Regions from separate parts of the Homo sapiens genome. Here region 2 is linked to region 1. The links are contacts of gene promoters, found by promoter capture Hi-C in human tissues and cell types (Jung and others, 2019). All regions are on one chromosome and are shown on one strand. The core of a region is centred on a gene start or on the middle of the fragment in contact, and the rest is flanking DNA. Distances in the headings are between cores, read along the strand shown. Region 1 holds the start of VWA5B2 (von Willebrand factor A domain containing 5B2). Region 2 overlaps POLR2H (RNA polymerase II, I and III subunit H).

The links. Contacts are between HindIII fragments. The study calls those that stand out against the background at their distance.
Region 2: a fragment that was not itself captured here is called in contact with the fragment with the promoter of VWA5B2 in region 1 in 1 of the 25 tissues and cell types used here (dorsolateral prefrontal cortex).

The regions. Positions count from the first base shown.
Region 1 is chr3:184,225,521-184,232,644 of GRCh38, forward strand. VWA5B2 (von Willebrand factor A domain containing 5B2) reads left to right here and starts at 4,065. Exons shown (of 20, transcript NM_001390846.1): 1 at 4,065-4,193; 2 at 4,860-5,147; 3 at 5,227-5,397. The coding sequence starts at 5,009. RefSeq lists a silencer at 3,833-4,172. The HindIII fragment of the contact is 9,993 bases long and covers 2,256-7,124 here.
Region 2 is chr3:184,368,425-184,371,828 of GRCh38, forward strand. POLR2H (RNA polymerase II, I and III subunit H) reads left to right here. Exons shown (of 6, transcript NM_006232.5): 6 at 1-167. Among named protein-coding and RNA genes, the nearest start is that of THPO, 8.1 kb to the right of the region's middle. The HindIII fragment of the contact is 4,081 bases long and covers 1-3,291 here.

The DNA.
Region 1 (7,124 bases), core at 2,815-5,314:
GGAGAAACTACTCCCAGTAGAAGACTCTTAAAGGCTGGGAGCAGTGGCTCACACCTATAATCCCAACACTTTGGGAGGCTGAGGCAGGCAGATCACTTGAGGTCAGGAGTTTGAGACCAGCCTGACCAACTTGGTGAAACCCCATCTCTACTAAAAATACAAAAATTAGCTGGGCATGGTGGTGGGTGCCTGTATTCTCAGCTACTCGGGAGGCTGAGGCAGGAGAATCGCTTGAACTGGGAGGTGGAGGTCACAGTGAGCTGAGATTGCACACGCACCACTGCACTCTAGCCTGGACTACGGAGTGAGATTCCATCTCAAAAAATAAAAATAAAAACAAAAACACAAAAATTAGCCAGGCATTCTGGCGTGCACATGTAGTCCCAGCTACTCTGGAGGTTGAGGCATGAGAATCACTTGAACCCGGGAGGCGGAGGTTGCAGTGAGCTGAGATTGAGCCATTGCACTCCAGCCTAGGCAAAACAGTGAGACTGTGTTTCAAAACAAACAAACAAACAAACAAATAAAAAAAACTACCCCCCCCCACACCAACTGGCTGGGCATGGTGGCTCACACCTGTAACCCCAGTACTTTGGGAAGCCAAGGAGGAAGGATCCTTTGAGCTCAAGAGTTCAAGACTGCAGTGAGCTATGATTGTGCCACTCCACTCCAGCCTGGGTGACAGAGTGAGACCCTGTCTCTGAAAAAAAAAAAAAAAAGAAAAGAAAAGACAAACCGAAGTGTTTAGGGGTAAAGAGGTCGGATGTGTAAAACTTAATTTGAAATGGTTCAGAAAAAAATGCTTTATTTGCAACTTTTGTAGAAGTTTTGAAGTTATTTTGAAATACAAAATTTAAAAATTAATTGTTTAATTGACGTCTTTCGTGAGGGGAGGGGCTACCACTGTCTTGTTTTCTGCTGTAGTTCCAGCTCTAGCACACCGCAGGCTTCAACAAGAAATATTTCTTGAGTGAACAAATGAATTAATGAACTAAACCATCTTCCAATTTGGGTTTCAGGCAGGGGCTGGGATTTTGGAAGTCAAGCTTTAGACAGCAAGAGGCAAAATTCCTCTTTTTCTCTAGGTATATCTCTTCTGGAGCTCCAATCTGAGAGGGTAGATCATCTATAGTTTGGGGAAATAAGACCTCTGCCCTCCAAAGGCCGACAGGCAGCCCACAAGCAGGAGATAATTGAGTTGTGCTTTGCAACAAGAAGACCTGGCTGAGTGCCATTTTCTAAGTCAGTTCCCTAAGGTTCACCCTATTCCCCACATCACCACCACCCTTGGTTAAGATTTGTTTTTTAATTTTTAATTGTTATGGAGATAGGGTCTCCCTATGTTGTCCAGGCTGGTCTCAAACTCCTGGCCTCAAGGGATTCTCCTGCCTTAGGCTCCTGAAGTGCTGGCATTACAGGTGTGAGCCACCGCCAGCCAGTTAAAAGCTTTTATAATATCCATTACTATTACTCTTGTAATGCAGCACTTATCTCAAGCTACTGTAACTGTATATTTGTCTGCCCTTTTCACTAAAGTGTGAGACTCTCCTAGGCAGAAGCTAAGTCTTTTCAGCTCAATATCCTCCTATGGGCCAGGCGCAGTGGCTCATGCCTATAATCCTAGCACTTTGGGAGGCTGAGGCAGGCAGATTGCCTGAGCTCAGGAGTTCAAGACCAGCCTGGACAACATGGTGAAACCCTGTCTCTACTAAAAATCCAAAAAATTACCCAGGCATGCTGGTGCTCGCCTGTAATCCCAGCTTCTCAGGAGGCTGAGGCAGGAGAATCACTTGAACCTGGGAGGCAGATGTTGCATGCAGTGAGCCGAGATCGCTCCACTACACTCCAGCCTGGACGACAGGGCGAAACTCTGTCTCAAAAAATATATCTATATATCTATATCTATATGTATATCATCTATATCATCTATTCTCCTATGACTACCACGTAGCCCACCCCATGCTATCCCTCAGCCCGGCCTCAGATCTGGAATCTGGTTCCTGTGCTGTCCCCTTCTGCCCTTGGCTGTCATGCTGCTGCCTCACCACCAGAGGGCCTTCCAGCTGGGCCTCAGAGACCCTTCTTACTGCCCCACCCAAGGTGCCAGGCAGCCAGCACTGGCTCCCCACCCCCTGCCCCTCATCCTGCAGGGTGCCCTATGCTTTTTGTGGAGCCATTCACCTGTCTCTCCCTCCATTTGCCTCAGCTAAGGAGACCTTCCTAGCAAGATCTCAGGGTTGGTCCAGCTTTGCAGCAAAGTTTGACTTCTGCCAGTGTGTGTGTCTGGTCTCTGATAGGGATGCTATCTTCCTGGGAGGCTGTCTTACATCTAAGCTCTCCTCAGGACCAAACAGAAGGACCTCTTTTTCCATTTCCATGTGTCGGAGACCTCCCTAATGACTGCTATTTGCAACCTCATGTTTGTCCAAGGGCTACATGTAGCTCTTGGTTCATTTGTAGAAGGGGCAGAGCACAAGGTGCTTGTGGAAAGGTGGCCACTGCCTGGACCTTTGTGAGGCCCTCAGGGCCAGGGCTGGTCCTACCTGAGGCCCTGGATCACCTGGAGGGACCATCAGCCCATCCACTGTTTCTCCCTAGGCCTGAAAGAGGGACCCTCGTTCAGGATGAAGCTGAGAACAGACTCAGTAGAGAAAGGGGGAGAGAGGTGAATGGAACCATGACCCAGGTAGTATGGAAAGAGGGCTAGGACCCAGCTGGAGCTCCCTGTGTGTTGGGTACGTGTGACTGTGTCTGTGCTCCCTGTATCATTCCTGTGCATTTCCACCCATGAAATTCCCTGGGAAAAGGTCAAGCTCTCTCCACCATGCTAAGTAGGGTGAGCAAAGGAGATGGTTGGGGTTGAGGGCTCAGATACTCAAGGAGGCAGGGATCCCCCGGGGGGATGATCCCTGGTGATAGTGATTGAAATCAGAAGGAGAGAGTTAATGCGGAGGAGTGAGAACCATGGGCCCGACTCGAAAGCTCACTTCCTACTGGCTGTCCTCCATCCCCAGCTCTCCTCAAGCTCTCTCTGCAGAATCTCAGTATGGCATCTGCCAAAAAGCTTACATGGATGATCCCCAAACATGGTCATCTCCTCTCACTTCCCCAGGGCTCTCAGACTCTTCCTTGGGGGACCTGGGAGAGGTTTTCCGGACCTTCCTACTTTTTGACAGCATAACACTGTCAAGCACATGCAAAGTCTGCCAATAACAAGGGGCCCTCCTGACAAGCAGAGATGTTTTCTCTTCAGGGCTGCGGTGATGGGTGGGGGTCACTGCTATGAGGGGACGGTCTGCAGCCATAAGAAGGCTCTTCAGGCTAGAAGGCTTCACTCCCAAGGCCCGCACAGCTGAAGAGACCAAGGGGTTATAGGCTGAGGGCGCTATTGTGCACACCCTCCCACCCCAGCAGAAGTGGTTGGCACTGCAGCGATGCCAAGGCCGGCTGCTTGGGGGTGGGAGGAGGTCGCTGCAGTGATGAGGAATCCCTGCTTGGAGTGAGTGGTCACTGAAGTGGCTGCATGAACTAAAAGTACCTGCAGGGATGGGGGAGGTTTTCTGCAGTGATGAAGAGCACTTTGCAAAGGAAAGGGGCCAGCTTCTTGGGGGAAGAGTCCTGCGGTGACGGTGATGGGGGGCTGGGGGGTTCGCTGCAGTCAGGAGGGAGGGTCTCTGCAGCGATGGGAAGCAACCCAGGGCAGGGGGTGGGGTGGGCTGGGGAATGGGATGCCGTCGTGGTAATGGGATAGCTGGGGTCGCGGCAGTGTCGGTGGCACTTGCAGGACGCCTGATTCCTGAAGAATGGAAAGGGTGGGGTCTCTGAGGCCTCGGTCCTGCAGTGACGGGGATCCGTGCGGCGGCGGGGACGCGGTCCCTGCACTGCGGTGCCCAGTCTGGCTCGGGCTGCCGCGGCTGGCGCGGAGGCGGTACCGCGCCCGAAGGAGGGGGGAGCGCCAGCCCCGCCGCAGCAGCAGCAGGCGTGGCCAGGGCAGGCTGGAGGGGCGGCCTCTCGGAACGGGGGCGGGACCACCGCCGGCAGGGCCCGCGCCCCTGCCGGGACTCAGAGCCGCTGCAGCCACAGTCACGAACTGGCGGCCGGCAGGTGCCGGGACCGAGGGCCACCCGGAGCGCAGAGGCGGCACCACCCACACGGATCCCGTGGGCACCTAGAACTCCGCGGAGGGCGCGACGGTGAGGCTGAGACTGCCACAGGGAGCGGGGCGATCCCCAGAGCCAGCCCGCGGCATCCCCTGCGCGGGCCGCGGCCACTGCAGGTGCCCCCTCCTCCCACATCAGCTCTGCCGGGGTAGGGAGCGGTAACCTGGCGGCTCCCACGGACTCTCCCTGGCCCGACACCTCTCCCGGGCTTGCCTCCCAAAGACCCCCTCTTTTCGCTTTCCCAGCTCGTTCTTCCCACCCTTAACCCCTCCACTCCGGCCAGCACCCCCGTCGGATGAGGCACCAGGGAGAGAAAGACCAAGGCCCTTTCGGCGCCCCATCCACCCTGCCCCCGCGATCCCTCGCAGGGCCGGGGGCCTCCGGGGGGATTCGGGCCCTTTAAACCTCCGCCTTCCCGGAGCATCTTCCATCTCCACCCGCGCCGCTTCCGACAGCTGGCGGCCGCGGGGGGCCCCGGGGGGCCGGCAGGTACGGGGGTGGCTGCGAGGTTGGGAGTGGGCGGTGGAACAGCTGTGACCGCCCCCACCCCCGGGGGAGCCGCGGCGGGACTGCTGGGCGCCGAAGCGCGCGTTAATCATTAACCCTCCGCGGCCCGGCTGCCCAGGTAACGCGTGAGGATGCCCTCCTCGCCACCACGCCTGCCGCCCCCTTATCTCCCCCGCCACCTGTCGCCCTCAGGAGCTCCCGCTCGGCCTCGCGCCCCGGCAGGCCCCGTCCGGGTGCTGGAGTGAGACTCTCGCGCTGGCCTCTGGAGCGCGGGGTGGGCGTCCCGTCACCCTGCGCCCAGCTTCCCCGGCCCGTTCCCGCAGGGCCGGCCTCCCGGCGCCATGCCCGGCCTGTACTGCCCCTCCAGCTGGACGCCGCTGCCGCTCACGGACTCCTGGGTCCGGGCCTGCGCCAACGGCCCCTGCCTCAGCGTGCGGGCCCGGCTCACCTACCGCAACCCGCAGCCGCAGCCGGTGGACGGTGAGGCCCGGGTGGGGCGCGGGCGCGGCGGGGGGTGCGCCGGGCAGGGTCCGACGCCGCCTCCCGCCGCCCTCCCCAGGCGTGTTCGTGTACCCGCTGGCCGAGGCCGAGGTGGTGTCCGGCTTCGAGGCCGAGGCCGCCGGACGGCGCGTCTCCTTCCAGCTGCAGAGCCGGCGCCGCTCGCAGGCCGCCTGCTGCCGCGCTCTGGGCCCGGGGCTGGGGACCCCGACGCCCCGCCGCTGCGCGCAGGGTGAGTTCCGCGCGCCCGCACCCGCGCTCCTGAAAGCCGGGCGCAGCTCAGGCTCCCGCATCCGCTCGGCCTCCGCCCGTCCCCCGCCTTCCTCCGGGCACTGCCTTGTGCATTCATTGGCTCATCCTGGTATTTAGCAGTCGTGGGCTGGGCACCTGACCTGCGCCAGGTGCTGGGAGAACATGGCCCGGAGGTTCACAGCCTGGGAGACAGACACAGCAGGCAGCACAGGGCTTGCGGGGGCGCCAGCAACCCTTACAGCCCAGGAGACCGGTCTCTCTAGGGGGCTGCAAAGGGAGCCTTCTCCCCTGGTGGTCCCCTCCGGCCCCTTACTATTTTAGGCTGCACACCTCAATCCGGCCCCGCGTGGGCCAGTGAATCAAGTGTAGACTCCTGTGCCTAGCAGCCAAGGCCCTCGCTCTCACCCCATTCCATCCCTCTCCCAGCGACCCCATACACCAGGTACCGCTGCCGCTGGCCACACTGACTGACAGGTCCTTTCCCAACTCTCTGCTCTGTCTTTCCATCTTCTATTGAGCAAATTCCTACTTGTCCTTTAAGATCCACTAAACGTCATTCCTAGGGAAACCCTCCCTGACTCTCCCACAAATAGCTGCACTGTTTCCTGGCTCCCCAGCCTTTTGTGCCCCCTCGTTATGGCACTTACAGGGGGAGTCATTGTCACAGATCTGCCTGTCTGTCTCCCCGCTGGAGCATCTCCAAATCCCAGCACCTCACACAGAACCTGGCACTATGAGGCCCAGCGAGTGCCCGGGGAAGGGACAGAAGCCCAGCCCTGTGCTGTGTGCTGTGCTTGCACCTGGTTCTTTCATTGATTCATTCATACATGGCTTTGATTCCTGCCCAGGGGATTTGCAATCCAGGTAAGAAGAAGAGGAACAGAATCCAGTGGTGTTGAGAGCTGGCATAAGCCCAGCACGTTAGGGGCTTGTGGTTAGAGGCTAGAGTGAGCTCTGGGCTGAGGCCCCAGGAATGTTCCAGAAGGAGGTAGAGCCAGCATTTGACTGCAAGAAAGGGTAGGACTCAGTTAAGTGGAAGGTAGGGGCAACAGTATAAGCAAATGCTTATAAGTAGGTTACAGTGGGTAATGACAATAAAATATCTCATGTTTATAGTGATTTACAGTTTACAATCGCTAGTATCACCTCATTTGAATCCCAAGTAGTGGGTAATGCAGGCTTCTTCCTGTTATGGGGGATGGAAGGGGGATAATCCCCCTTCCTCCTGTTATGGGGGATGAAAGTCATAGCAGGGGTCACTGACTTATATGTTGGGTGCTTTGCATACATTGCCTCATTTGTTCCTCACCACAATCACAGAGTTATTATGATCCCCACTTTATGGATGAGGAAACAGGCTCCTCAGAACAAGAGAGCTGCCAAAGGACTCAATTAGAGGTCACCGAGCTGATATTTAAAACTTGATGCTGTGCTGTCTCCACTGTGTCGGTTGGCTGGGATGGAAGCCCCTTTCTTTCTTTCCTTCCATCTTTTTCTTCCCTTCAGTTATTCAGCAAGTATTTATTGAAAGGATGAACAATTGGTCATTGTGAGGAAGTGAGGTACAGTAGGGCTGTGAACGTGGGCTGGGGCCAGACCACGTCGGTGGTGTACACAGCTGCCACTGTACATGGCTGGTCATTATTCCTTTAGCAGCCCCACCAGTCCCCAAACAAACCTAGGAGCTAAATAAAACAGTGTGTGCAG
Region 2 (3,404 bases), core at 1-2,500, 140 kb after region 1:
CTGGCCTCCACTCAATGGGAAACTGACTCGCCTGTGAAAGACACAGTGGGAGAGCTGAAAATGAATCAGAAGCTTTATGTATATGATTTTTAAATTAAACTTTACTTTTTCAGACTGCCCCTCCCCTTTTTGTAAAAAGTCCATTTACTGTAAAATCGTTTTTTCCAGTTTGTCTGTGGTGTATTGTTTCTGGCCCACAGCCAGCTGATCACTTGTCAATGTAGGATCTATTCCAGCCTTTTGGTATCTGGGTTCAGGGTTATCTCAGTCTCCTGGCTGACTGTTCTCAACATTTATCCTCCAGTGTGGTTTTCAGTCTGGGAGAGAGTTGTGCTTTTGGCTCCTGAGGGTACCCCAGGCCCAGAAGATACCACCCATTTGGCGCAGAATTTTGAATTGGCAAGGAGCCCTGCTCATGTCCTTCCAACACTTTCAGTCTCTTAGGAAGTCAGTTCATGCTGACTTGAATGAGTCACTTGCATAGTCTAGAAATGTTCATTATTTTTATGGAAGCTTTGGGTAGAGGCTTTTAGCTACAGGCATGGGAGATGACTATGAAGAGAGTAGGACGAGAGGACTTGGTGGTTCTGGAAGCAGCTGGAGGAGCTGGCTCTCTGCTCTACATTCCAGTGGTGACCTGGGAGGGAGGGTAAGTGGAAGTGGACAGGGCAGCAATACCAATGAAGTTGGCAGGCCAGAGCCAGGGCCAGTGCCAGGACCATGTAGCGGCCTGACTACAGTCACTAACTTATGAGTAGGGGAAGAAAAAACATTAAGGAAATGGCTATGATAAGGGCTCCAGCATGTGAGCTGGCTCTTCAGCTTGGCATTAGAGGTCTCTAGGAAAGCATATGGGGTTCTGTTTTCCCCTAGGAAGTTTAGGGTAACAATCCAAAAAGATTCTCTGTGCATTAAACAGTTGTCTGTTTGATCTGGTTTTGCCTGGGAGCTGGTCCCCTGCTGGGATACCTGGGGTATTTCCTTCCCCATCATTTTCGGATCTTCATGTGAGGTGTTAGAAATAGTATTTAGGGAAATGGGTTGAAAATGAATGGCCTCAGCAGGGAGGAGGAAGAGGTGTTTCTTTTACCTTACTATGGGTAGAGTAGGGGGAGGGAGTTGGGATGAATTTTTATGAAATCCTAGAACCTTTCCATGGGGTGGGTTTTTTTGTGGGGTTGGAGAACGACAAATGAGAGTGAGACAAACGAATTACAAGTAATAGTGTGTAGGTTATCATAGACTGTCCTGGCGGTCTTGGGGTAGCAGAAGAAAGAGAACTGGTAGAGCATTGAATAGGGATAGGAGTGTTCTGGTTGTAATTGTTTTTTTGTGTTAGTGGGAAGAAGGGATGGGACCAACCAGACTGATTTGGGAATGGGTTAGATTTGTAATAGGGCAGGTAAGTTCACACTGGAGAAGCCCATGAGTTACTCGCATTTGCCCACAAGTGGAGTAAGTCACATACCAATACCAGATGCCTGGAAGTTTCTGGTGACATTTGCAGTTTTGACATTCTATTTCTTTTTTTCTTTTTTTTGAAATGGAGTTTCGCTCTTGTTGTCCAGGCTGGAGTGCAATGGCGCGATCTCGGCTCACCACAACTTCTGCCTCCCGGGTTCAAGCGATTCTCCTGCCCCAGCCTTCCGAGTAGCTGGGATTACAGGCATGTGCCACCATGCTCAGCTAATTTTGTATTTTTAGTAGAGACGAGGTTTCTCCATGTTGGTCAGGCCAGTCTCAAACTCCCAACCTCAGGTGATGCACCACCATGCCCAGCTAATTTTGTATTTTTTAGTAGAGATGGAGTTTCTCCATGTTGGTCAGGCTGGTCTCGAACTCCCGACCTCAGGTGATCCGCCTGCCTCGGCCTCCCAAAGTGCTGGGTGTGAGCCACCATACCTGGCCCTAAAGTTTTGCCATTCTTGTCTCTCATCTGTCTGTGCTGGGAACCCATCATTCTCTGGTTCTATTGGTGTATCGTGTCCTAGGTGCTGGCACTTTCATGTGCTATAAAGTGTTTCATTTGATTATTAAATTTAACCCAGCTCAATATGTCAGTAAGTTAGTTTCCACTTAACATTCCCTTGACTGCATGCTGGAATTTGTAGTATGAATGAACTACTTCTCTTCCATGCAGAAACTGACAGCATTTGAGATTTGGACAACATTTTTGAGCTTTGTGCATTTGTTGATTCCTTCTCTAGGAAAACTATTCTGTCCGTGAAGGGAGAGAGGGACATGGGAAGATGTCTAAATTGGTCACCTCCACTAAGAACTTTGGTTTTCTACTCAGAACTCTTTTTTTTTTTTGAGATGGAGTCTCACTCTGTTGCCCAGGCTGGAGTGCAGTGGCGCGATCTTGGCTCACTGCAACCTCCATCTCCCGGGTTCAAGACTACAGGCGCTTGCCACCACACTCGGCTAATTTTTCATATTTTTAGTAAAGGCAGGGTTTCACCGTGTTGGCCAGGATGGCCTTGATCTCCTGACCTTGTGATCCGCCTGCCTTGGCCTCCCAAAGTGCTGGGATTACAGGCGTGAGCCACCGCGCCCGGCCTCAAAACTCTAACTGTTACTCCTTAAGGACTTGTATGTCTTTCCCAGTAAACAGAATCATTAAATGACATATAGGACAGTGTACCACACTGGAGAGAGTATGGACCCTAGAGTGAGGTCAGACTAGGGTGTTTCTTCTCCTGCCCACAGGGCGTGTAACCACTGATAACTCACCTGGCTTCTCTGAGCCTCAGTTTCCTCATCTCTAAAACAGAAAAGATAATACCTACCTTACAGAGTTGTGTGAATGTTACAAAAGGTAAAGTACACGAGGTTCCTAGCACATTGCCTTTCATTCTGCTGCTTTGGAATGCCTTTGGTGACCCTGGGGTATTTGTGGCAGTGTTTGGGTTTCTGGGTTCCTGGCTCCTCTACCTCCGTGGTAGCCTTTCCTTCCTCAGGGGTCGGGGAGAGGAAGAAGCTTCCACTAGTTTTCCTACAGGAACCTCTGGAGGTAGCAGGTTGATTTTTGCAGTGGAATTTGTGTTTTTGTGCAACACAAACCTTTTCCTGAGCACCAAGGCAGCACTTATTTGCAAAGCCCCATAAGCCTGACTCCTTTTTAGAGATCCCCTAGCAGAGTTTATGGTGGTCACACAGAGCTGCTTTTTAGATGCATTTGCGGGAACTGGGAAATGAGCCTTCAACTTGTACTTGACTTGTACTTGTTCTCCTGCTGTGTGAGCTCAAGGAGCCTGACTCATGCCACTTCCTGCACTTCCTCCTGACCTCCACAGGAGGGAGGCAGGCGTCCATGCCTGGCAAAGCCTCCTGCTGAGCTGCCAAAGCTCTAGCTGTTTGCTCAGCTGTCACATCCAGGTCCTGTCTTTACTGAACTGTCTACA